Linked DNA regions of Homo sapiens: all the other regions are linked to region 3. The links are contacts of gene promoters, found by promoter capture Hi-C in blood cells and fetal thymus (Javierre and others, 2016). All regions are on one chromosome and are shown on one strand. The core of a region is centred on a gene start or on the middle of the fragment in contact, and the rest is flanking DNA. Distances in the headings are between cores, read along the strand shown.

Region 1 (3,563 bases), core at 610-3,109, 140 kb after region 3:
CCTAAAGACTCCACCAAAAAAACCTGTTAAAATAGACAAATTTAGTATAGTTAAAGGATACAAAATCAACATAGAAAAATCAGCAGTATTCCTATATACTAACAACAGACTATCCAAAAAAGAGATCAAGAAAACAATCCCATTTACAGTATATCCAAAAAAAAAAAATACTTGGGAGTAAATTTAACCAAGGAGATGAAAGACCTGTACACTGAAAACTATAAAACACTGATGAAAGGATGAAGAAGACACAAATAAATGGAAAGATATCCCCATGTACATGAATTGGAAGAATTAATATTGCTAAAATGATCATTGGCACCAAAACAATCTACAGATTCAATGCAATGCCTATCAAAATTCCATGACATTTTTCCCAGAAATAGAAAGAGAATCCTATGAAACCACAAAAGACTCCAAATAGTCAAAGAAATGTTGAGCAAAAGGAAGAAAGCTGGAGGTCTCATACTACCTGATTTCAAATTATACTACAAAGCTATAGTAATCAAAACAGCGTAGTACTGGCATAAAAACAAATGCATAGACTAAAGGAATATAATAGAGACCCCAGAAATAAGTTTATGCATTTATGTTCAGTTGATCTTCAACAAAGGTACCAAGAACATACAACGTTCAAGAAAGCACAGTCTCTTCAATAATTGGTACTGGGAAAACTGGATGTCCACATGCAAAAGAAGGAACTTAGACCCTTGTCTCACCCATAAAGAAAAATCAACTCAAAATGAAATAAAGACTTAAATGTAAGTCCTGAAATTATAAAACTACTCAAAGAAAACATAAGGGAAAAGCTCCAAGACATTGGTCTGGGAGATGATATTTTGGTCATATATGACCCTTGATACACAGGCAACATAGTGAAAAGAGAGAAATGGGATTGCATCAAAATTAAAAGCTTCTGTACAGAATAGGAAACAATCAACAGAGTGAAAAGGCAACCTACCAAAGGGGAGGAAATATTTACAAACTGCATACCTGACAAGAGGTTAATATCCAAAATATATAAGGAACTGAAACAACTCAATATTAAAAAGATAAATAATTCAATTTTAAAACAGGCAAAATACCTGAATAGATATTTCTCAAAAGAAGACATTTACAAGTGGCCAACAGGTATATGAAAAAATGTTCAACATCACTAATGATCACAGAAATGTAAATTAAAACCACAAAGAGATATCACCTCACACTGGTTAGTATAGCTATCATCAAAAAGACAAAAAATAGTAAGTGTGGGTAAGGGTGTGCAGAAGACAGGACCCATGCACACTGTTGGTGGGACTGTAACTTGGCACAGCCATTATGGAAGACAGTATGGAGCTTCCTCAAAAAAGTAAAAATAGAACTACCATATGATCCAGCAATTCCATTTCTGGGTATATATTCAAAGTAAATGAAATCATTATGTCAAAGAGATATCTTCATTCCCATGTTCATTGGAGCATTATTCATGATAGCCAAGATATGGAATCAACCTAAGTGTCTGTCAAGAGATAAATGGATAAAGAAAACGGGATATATCTATGCAATGGAATACCATTCAGCCTTAAAAAAGAAGGAATTCCTGGCTGGGTGCGGTGGCTCACGTCTGTAATCCCAGCACTTTGGGAGGCCGAGGTGGGCGGATCATGAGGTCAGGAGACAGAGACCACCGGGTGAAACCCTATCTCTACTAAAAATACCAAAAATTAGCTGGGCGTGGTGGCAGGCGCCTGTAGTCCCAGCTACTTAGGAGGCTGAGGCAGGAGAATGGCATGAACCCAGGAGGCAGAGCTTGCAGTCAGCGGAGATCATGCCACTGCACTCCAGCCGGGGCGACAGAGCGAGACTCCGTCTCAAAAAAAAAAAAAAAAAAAAAAAAAAGGCAAAAAGAAGGAATTCCTGTTATTTGCAGCAACACGGATGAACCTGGAGGACATTATGCTGAGTCAAATAGGCCAGGCACAGAAAGACAAATACTGCATAATTTAACTTATATGTAGAATATAAGAAAGTTGAAATCATAGAAGTGGAGAGTAGAATGTTGGTGGCCAGATGCTGGGGCAGAGTGGGGCTGGGATGGGAATGAGGAAATGTTGGTCAAAGAGTACGAATTTTCAGTTAGACAGAGGGATGAAGTTCTGGGGATCTCTTGTACAGCATGGTGACTATAGTTAATAATAATGTATTGTCTACTTGAAAATTGCTAAGAGAATAGATTTTATAATGTTCTCACCACAAACTAAGTATGTGAAGTGATAGATATGTTAATTAGCTTGGTTTAATGGTGTCACAGTGTATACATATATCAAAATATCACATTGTATACCTTGAATATATATAACTTTATTTGTCAACTATATCTTAATGAAGCTGGGGAAAAAATCAATAAAAAGTAAACACACACACACAGGACAACTGAAGATCACTTTTTATTTTGTAGAGACAGAGTCTGGTTGTGTTGCCCAGGTTGGTTTCAATCTCCTGGCCTAAGTGATCTTCCTGCCTTGGCCTCCCAGAGTGCTGAGATTACAGGTGTGTGCCACCATGCCCAGCGGAATATCACTTTTACTTAGGAATATAGGTCAGAAATATTTTTTTAACCAGCAAATCAAATCAAACAATATATTAAATAATCAATTTAACAAAATAGGATTTAATTTAGGAATTCAAGAATAGTTCGAGCACTGGAAGAACATGATTTAATATTTTAAGAAATGGAAAGAGAATAAAAACATGATCATAATAACTGAAGCTACAAATTCAACCAGACACTTTTGCATTCTTTAAAACTCATTTAAGATAAAGAGAAGCTTCCAAACATGTTGAAGTTTATTTCCTACAAATCAATCATAAACATTTCAAATAAACACAAATTATTTTCATTAAAATAGAAAAAAGAAGAATGCTGTCTACTACCCCTAATGGTCAACAGTCATTGCAGGGAGTATAACAGATAATGTGGTAAAGTAAGAGAAATAAATATGTAGTTTAACTATGGGGAAAAGCCTGTTTGATATCCTTTTCTATTTTGATTATAAATGTGCTTAGGTTCTTCAAAAGACGTGATCTGAGAGTAGCACATATTAAGGTCATGTCTTATTACTACAGGCTGTTCCAGAAAGGCCATGGGGCTTTCTCTGTTTATGGGAACAGCTGAATATGATCAAAACTGGATGGGCCAAGTGCATAGGGCCTGTGCTGCCAAGACATGCCTTCAAAAATAGGAAGTGAAAATCCAGTCCCATGCTTACGTATCAAATATAGCATTGGCCCTCAAGTTCAAACTGCTAGAGTATACTCAAATTGCTTCATTCAGCTAATTTTGGGAGTATACTAATGACCAAAGGACACTTTACTATAAAGTGACATTTGTTAATAGAGTTCCAGACTCCAAAATGCAGTTTCCAGGATACTTGTTAACAGAACATAGGGTAACCTAATAATTCTACCACTTAGTCACAAACCTATTTAATCCAACATTTTTTCGAATTCATTTACTTAAGAAATTAGATCATTCATTACAATTAATTTGGCAAGCAAAGACAGCCAGCTGCTCAAGTGAG
Region 2 (3,590 bases), core at 669-3,168, 230 kb after region 3:
TAAATTATATATACATTGGTTCAGCCCAGAAAGGCAGAACATCTTGAAGTGGGGGCCTCACGGGTTATAGGTGGATTCAAAGATTTTCTGATTGGCATTTGGTTGAAGGAGTTAAGCTTTGTCTAAAGATTTGAAGTCAGTAGGAAGAAATAGTTAAGGTAAGGAGGGTTGTGGAAGCCAAGGTTCTTTTATGTAGATGAAGCCTCCAGGCAGCCGACTTCAGACAGAACAGATGATAAATGTCTCTTTTCAGACCTTAAAATGTGTCAGGCTCTTAGTTAATCTCTCCTATATCTGAGAAAGGCCTGGCTGTAATAATGAAGATTTTCTATGGATGCAAACTTCCCCTACAAAAGACACCTTTGCAGGGCCATTTAAAAATATGTCAAAGAAATATATTTTGATGTAAAATGTTTTTATTTCCCTCATGGTCTGCTGTCATGGGATGCTATACCAGTCAGATTGCAATTTGGTACCGTATTGCCAGAGGCTGTTTTGTCAGTCTTGTGTTCTCTAATTTAATGTTAATGCTGGTCAGCTATGTCTGAACTCCAAAAGAGAGGAGGTATAACAAGGTGTGTTTGACTTCCCTTCCTGTCATGGCCTGGAATTTAGTTTTTCAGGAGTTTCTGGGATCCCCTTGGCCAAGCCTAAAAGTCTGTTCAGTCGGTTGGGGGCTTAGAATTTTATTTTTGATTTATAACTTTAAGGAGATATGAGTGGTGTTCAAACTAGGTGTTTGACCAGAGATATTGTACAAACTCCTACATGCTTGGATGAAGTGGCTTAAGAATCTAGTTAGGGGCCGGGTGCAGTGGCTCATGCCTGTAATTCCAGCACTTAGGGAGGCTGAGGCAGGTGGATCAATTGAGGCCAGGAGTTTGAGACCAACATGGCCAACATGGTGAAATCCTGTCTCTATTAAAAATGCAAAAATTAGCCAGGCGTGGTGGTATGCACCTGTAGCCCCAGCTACTTGGGAGGCTGAGGTGGGAGGATCTCATGAGCCCAGGAGGCAAAGGTTGCATTGAGGCAAGATCACAGCACTGCACTCCACTCTGGGCGACACAGTGAGACCCTGTCTTAAAAAAAAAAAAAAAAAAATCTAGTTAGGCCAGTAGCCCATACCTGTCAGAGGAACTTGAACCAGAGAGACTCCATTTTGAGTGAGGTTTAGGAAAATGAGGCTGAGACTGGCTAGGCCGCATTCTCAGAAAAAACAGGCATTCCTAGCCTCTAGACATTTACAGTTAAGGGAACAAATTAATAATGCTTACTAAAACAGACCCAGACTTGGGAATGTCCCGATATCCTGATGTCTGGAGAACAAAGACATTCCTAATTTTGCTTTAAAGATGATAATAACGATTCTTGCAAAATATAGTAATTAAGAAAATTAATTCTTTAACACAAACCCTTGTGGCAGAACACATCTCCCCACATATACAAGCATTGTACCTAGGATGGATGTGTTCCTCCTCTTACTTTCGGGAACGTCCTACTCTATGTATGGAGTAGCTGTCCTTTCACTTTACTTTCCTAACAAACTCCCTTTTGCTTTGCACTGTGGACTTGCCCTGAATTCTTTCTTGGGAGAGATCCAAGAATCCTCTCTTGGAGTCTGGATCGGAACCCTTTTCCTGTAACATACCCATTGGAGTGGCATGCTCCACCCAAGGCTAAAATTCAGTCCTGGTTCTGGTCACTAAGCTATCAGAGGGTTCTGTCCCTTGATTCCTTGTTGTCCATCATATCCGAATTGAGTGACCCCTTCTGCCAAAAGGTAGGGAATTGGAATTTCCCCAAGCATCTAAGTAATCATATGATTGCCTTGTTAATATGAAGTATTTGTATATGTGGCCAAACTCATTGTAACATACTAGTGGGTAGACAGCCTGAGAGGAGGAGAGCTGTAGTGGATGTGAATACACATCCCAGTGTTAGTGATACAGCACTGATGAGTGGAGGAACACCAGGGCTCTTGTCTCACGCGAATTAGATGAAATGACAGACACACGTGGAGTGGTTTTTAAGGAGTGAAGACTTTAATAAGCAAGAAAGAAGGGAGAAAACAGAGGGAAGAAGCTCCCCCGTATAGAGACAGAGGGAGGGGGACTCCAAAGCCGAGAGAGGAGACCCCCAAGTGCGGTGGATACCAGCCAGTTATATGAGGAGGCTGAAGGAGGCAGTGTCTGATTTGCATAGGGCTCAAGGGATTGGTTTGACCAGGCATGTCATTCATGTAGCCCACAAAAACTGGCCCTCCCACCCTAGCCTTTTAATATGCAAATGAAGGGCACCGTGATGTTCTACACACATGGGGATATGTGGGGGTGGCCACATTGCCAGGCACATGGGAGCAAGGGCAAGAGAACAACGGTGGGAATCACCATGTTTGGGGGGATCCAGTTTCTAATGGACTGTATTTGCATATCAAAGGTTGGCAGCCCAGCTGTAAGACCTGGGGCTTTCCTGCTAGATGAGAAAGGTTTCTGGAGCTACTTTAAAAGAAACAACTTAGCTGCTTTAAAAGAAACAACTTTCGTGGCTGGGGGAGGGATAGCATTAGGAGAAATACCTAATGTAAATGGTGAGTTGATGGGTGCAGTTAACCAACATGATACATGTATGCCTATGTAACAAACCTGCACGTTGTGCACATGTACCTTAGAACTTAAAAGTATAATAATAAAAAAAGAAACAACTTTCCAAGGACCCCTTTTCCTATCTGCCTGAAATAATTTATTAATAACTCCTACCACATGAGGCTCGGAATATGATACCCCGAAATATGGCCCTTTGACATGCTGAACTAAAGCAGCAGCCTCAAGGTCTTTCTACCTCCCACCTCCACACTGACTCTACCCCAGCCCTATTTCTCCTAAAGCACAGGATAAGGTTTTTCTCTGATAGTCCTTTATCTACCTTAAGACTGGACTCACCAGAGGGACTGCCCCCTCTTCCCTCTCTGAAATCTCATTTTCTATCTCAGAAAAGACTGAGGAATGAAACCACACCTGGAAAGACTTTTACACAAGATAATGTTTGTCACACGCGTCCGTGTGAAGAGATCACCAAACAGGCTTTGTGTGAGCAACAAGGTTGTTTATTTCACCTGGGTGCAGGCGGGCTGAGTCCGAAAAAGGAGTCAGCGAAGGGAGATGGTGCGGGGGCAGTTTTACGGGATTTGGAAAATTACAGTCAAAGGTGTTGAGTCAAAGGGGTTGCTCTCTGGCAGGCAGGAGCAGGGGTCACAAGGTGCTCAGTGGGGGAGCTTCTGAGCCAGAAGGATTTTCACAAGGTAACGTCATCAGTTAAGGCAGGAACCAGCCATTTTCACTTCTTTTGTGATTCTTCAGTTGCTTCAGGCCATCTGGATGTATATGTGCAGGTCACAGGGGATATGATGGCTTAGCTTGGTCTCAGAGGCCTGACAATGTTTGCCTCTTGGGCTCATTGAAATTCCAGAGAGTCATTTACAAGTTACTGCCTCCAGGTCCATTCACTCCCACTAATTATCATTTACTACTCCTCAAAATTGCCACACCTCCATCTCCCTTTCTTCTATGAAGTAGTACGCATCTGGATCT
Region 3 (3,823 bases), core at 1,324-3,823:
TTAGGAACTATGTCTAAACAAGATTCATTCACAGAAGTGGGAATGTCTATTTGGCAAAAAGAAAATACTACTTACATGGCTGTTGGAAGACCAGCAATCACAAACTCAGTTTTTCAAAAGGCTGGGCAGAAACACAGATGAAAGAAACAGGCCATGTTTAAGAAAAGATAAAAGCTCACGCATGATATGCCACTAGAGAATCACCTAGCCTCAGTGTTGGCGGGGAGGCCTGGGGAGTCTTGATGTCTGAGAGTGACATTCTGATGATCACTGTCATGTGTAAATGTTGGCCTAAAGCTGCCAATATTTTTGATTTAAGAGAAGCAAGAAATGCAAATTTTTATGCAGCATGTCTCAATTTTTAATTTTGGCAACTATTACAAAATGTTTAAAGAGACTCTGTGCAGCCCAAATATAACATATCTATGGGCTGATGGCAGCCCAGCGTTGCCAGTTCACAGGGTCTACAAGAGATGATTCTTAGTTTCAACAGGGTGCAGTGCTGAAACGCGTGCACAGTAGATTTTGCTTCGGTTATGAAAGAACTTCCAAATATTTATGATTCATAGCCAGAGAAAAGGCTCTCTATCCAGGTTCTGAACAATAGGAAATCATCAAGAGGATATTGGATGACAATATATGAAAGATGTTATTTGAGAAAGGATTCTCTCCTGAGGCATAGATGTTGAACCAAATTCTATTAGTTATGCTTTTACAGCAAGATAGTGGTTTACAGCTTACAAAAGGCTTGTACATCCTCTCATATTAAAAGTTATTAGAACAGTCCTTTGAAGTAGAAAAGTAGGCATTTCTATTTTACAAACGAGTTGGCCGAGTATCTGAGATAGTAGATAACTCATAGAAGGTCATCCGGGAAACGGGGCAGCAGAACTGGGATCGAATGACTCTGGTCATCCAACTCCAAATGCAAAAGTCTTTCTGCTGCTGCTTCCTAGTTAAACTCTAAGGGTCTAAGACTCCATTCCTAGTTATGGTCTCAACTACATTTGCTCATTGCTGTGAGGGGTCAACCCACCTCCCGGAGTCCTCTCCTGCACATTCTCATGTTCCTGAAAGGCTTTTCTGTCCCTTCCACTACTCCCTGTAAGCTCCTGTGCTTCACAATTTCTTGTTGAATTTTTTCTAATCTGACTCTATCAGTTATGGGAATGTTCCCTCAATTCTTAGTGCTCCAAACCGGACTTGCTCTTGGCTTGTATTTGTCCAAAATATTTGTCTTCTCTATGTTTTCTACATGTTTGTCTTATAAGGACAAAAACCTGCCTTAGTTTATCCATGAACAAAGCCACGCATGCTAGTGGACACACACACACATGCGCGTGCGCGCGCACACACACACACACACACATACACACAGAGACTTTGTATGTGAGTAATGAATCATCAAATCATCATAATTTCTGGACTTGTATTAATAAGTCGGCCAGGAGGAAAAGAATCTGCTGTCAATCATGGCTTCTGGTTCTCACAGTCATCTCTACTTTCTTCCAGCAAGTTTGGTTCTGTCAAAAACCAGCTGTCAGCCTTGTTCCTGCATGCCCAATGCAGAAGAGTCAGTAAAGAAGATTTGGTTCTCTGTATTTCAGGGGCATCAATGCCAGGTTGAAATATGCCATTCTGGCCCAGCTCAGTGGCTCACACGTGTAATCCCAGCACTTTGGAAGGCCAAAGCGGGTGGATTGCTTGAGCTCAGGAGTTCGAGACCAGCCTGGGCAAGAGGCTGAGGTGGGAGGATGACCTGAGCCCGGGAGGTCAAGGCTGCAGCGAGCTGTGATCGTGCCACTGCACTCGAGCCAGGGCGTTGGAGTGAGACCCTGTCAAAAAAAAAAAAAAAAAGGAAGGAAAAAAGGAAGGAAGGAAGGGAGGGAGGGAAGATGCCATTCTTAGATTGAAGTGGACTTTATCTGGGCAGAACACACACACACATACACACATGCACACACACATTGTGGAGAAATTGCTGACTAAGCAAAGCTTCCAAATGACTTAGTTTGGCTAAAATGTAGGCTTTTAAAAATGTGAGCACTGCCAAGGGTTTTTCCTTGTTGACCCATGGATCCATCAAGTGCAAACATTTTCTAATGCACTATATTTAAGCCTGTGCAGCTAGATGTCATTCAACATGAAATACATTATTACAACTTGCATCTGTCTAAAATCTTGCATCTAAAATGAGAGACAAAAAATCTATAAAAATGGAAAACATGCATAGAAATATGTGAGGGAGGAAAAAATTACCCCCAAGAATGTTAGTGCACGCAGTCACACAGGGAGAAGACTATTTTTGTTTTGTTTTGATTGTTTTGTTTTGTTTTGGTTGTTTTGTTTTGGTGACCTAACTGGTCAAATGACCTATTAAGAATATTTCATAGAACGAATGTTCCGATGCTCTAATCTCTCTAGACAAGGTTCATATTTGTATGGGTTACTTATTCTCTCTTTGTTGACTAAGTCAATAATCAGAATCAGCAGGTTTGCAGTCAGATTGGCAGGGATAAGCAGCCTAGCTCAGGAGAAGTGAGTATAAAAGCCCCAGGCTGGGAGCAGCCATCACAGAAGTCCACTCATTCTTGGCAGGATGGCTTCTCATCGTCTGCTCCTCCTCTGCCTTGCTGGACTGGTATTTGTGTCTGAGGCTGGCCCTACGGTGAGTGTTTCTGTGACATCCCATTCCTACATTTAAGATTCACGCTAAATGAAGTAGAAGTGACTCCTTCCAGCTTTGCCAACCAGCTTTTATTACTAGGGCAAGGGTACCCAGCATCTATTTTTAATATAATTAATTCAAACTTCAAAAAGAATGAAGTTCCACTGAGCTTACTGAGCTGGGACTTGAACTCTGAGCATTCTACCTCATTGCTTTGGTGCATTAGGTTTGTAATATCTGGTACCTCTGTTTCCTCAGATAGATGATAGAAATAAAGATATGATATTAAGGAAGCTGTTAATACTGAATTTTCAGAAAAGTATCCCTCCATAAAATGTATTTGGGGGACAAACTGCAGGAGATTATATTCTGGCCCTATAGTTATTCAAAACGTATTTATTGATTAATCTTTAAAAGGCTTAGTGAACAATATTCTAGTCAGATATCTAATTCTTAAATCCTCTAGAAGAATTAACTAATACTATAAAATGGGTCTGGATGTAGTTCTGACATTATTTTATAACAACTGGTAAGAGGGAGTGACTATAGCAACAACTAAAATGATCTCAGGAAAACCTGTTTGGCCCTATGTATGGTACATTACATCTTTTCAGTAATTCCACTCAAATGGAGACTTTTAACAAAGCAACTGTTCTCAGGGGACCTATTTTCTCCCTTAAAATTCATTATACACATCCCTGGTTGATAGCAGTGTGTCTGGAGGCAGAAACCATTCTTGCTTTGGAAACAATTACGTCTGTGTTATACTGAGTAGGGAAGCTCATTAATTGTCGACACTTACGTTCCTGATAATGGGATCAGTGTGTAATTCTTGTTTCGCTCCAGATTTCTAATACCACAAAGAATAAATCCTTTCACTCTGATCAATTTTGTTAACTTCTCACGTGTCTTCTCTACACCCAGGGCACCGGTGAATCCAAGTGTCCTCTGATGGTCAAAGTTCTAGATGCTGTCCGAGGCAGTCCTGCCATCAATGTGGCCGTGCATGTGTTCAGAAAGGCTGCTGATGACACCTGGGAGCCATTTGCCTCTGGGTAAGTTGCCAAAGAACCCTCCCACAGGACTTGGTTTTATCTTCCCGTTTGCCCCTCACTTGGTAGAGAGAGGCTCACATCATCTGCTAAAGAATTTACA

The links. The method cuts DNA at HindIII sites, captures the fragments that hold promoters and counts their contacts. A CHiCAGO score of 5 or more calls a contact.
Region 1: a contact is called between a fragment that was not itself captured here and the fragment with the promoter of TTR in region 3, in 3 of 17 cell types (megakaryocytes, fetal thymus and M1 macrophages). The highest score is 7.5, in megakaryocytes.
Region 2: a contact is called between a fragment that was not itself captured here and the fragment with the promoter of TTR in region 3, in 1 of 17 cell types (M1 macrophages). The highest score is 5.4, in M1 macrophages.

The regions. Positions count from the first base shown.
Region 1 is chr18:31,733,629-31,737,191 of GRCh38, forward strand. No RefSeq gene overlaps it. Among named protein-coding and RNA genes, the nearest start is that of SLC25A52, 25 kb to the right of the region's middle. The HindIII fragment of the contact is 1,897 bases long and covers 912-2,808 here.
Region 2 is chr18:31,823,623-31,827,212 of GRCh38, forward strand. No RefSeq gene overlaps it. Among named protein-coding and RNA genes, the nearest start is that of SLC25A52, 65 kb to the left of the region's middle. RefSeq lists enhancers at 2,146-2,691, 2,692-3,237, 3,238-3,590. The HindIII fragment of the contact is 3,609 bases long and covers 115-3,590 here.
Region 3 is chr18:31,589,304-31,593,126 of GRCh38, forward strand. It overlaps TTR (transthyretin), which reads left to right and starts at 2,574. Exons shown (of 4, transcript NM_000371.4): 1 at 2,574-2,668; 2 at 3,593-3,723. The coding sequence starts at 2,600. The HindIII fragment of the contact is 4,728 bases long and covers 1,994-3,823 here.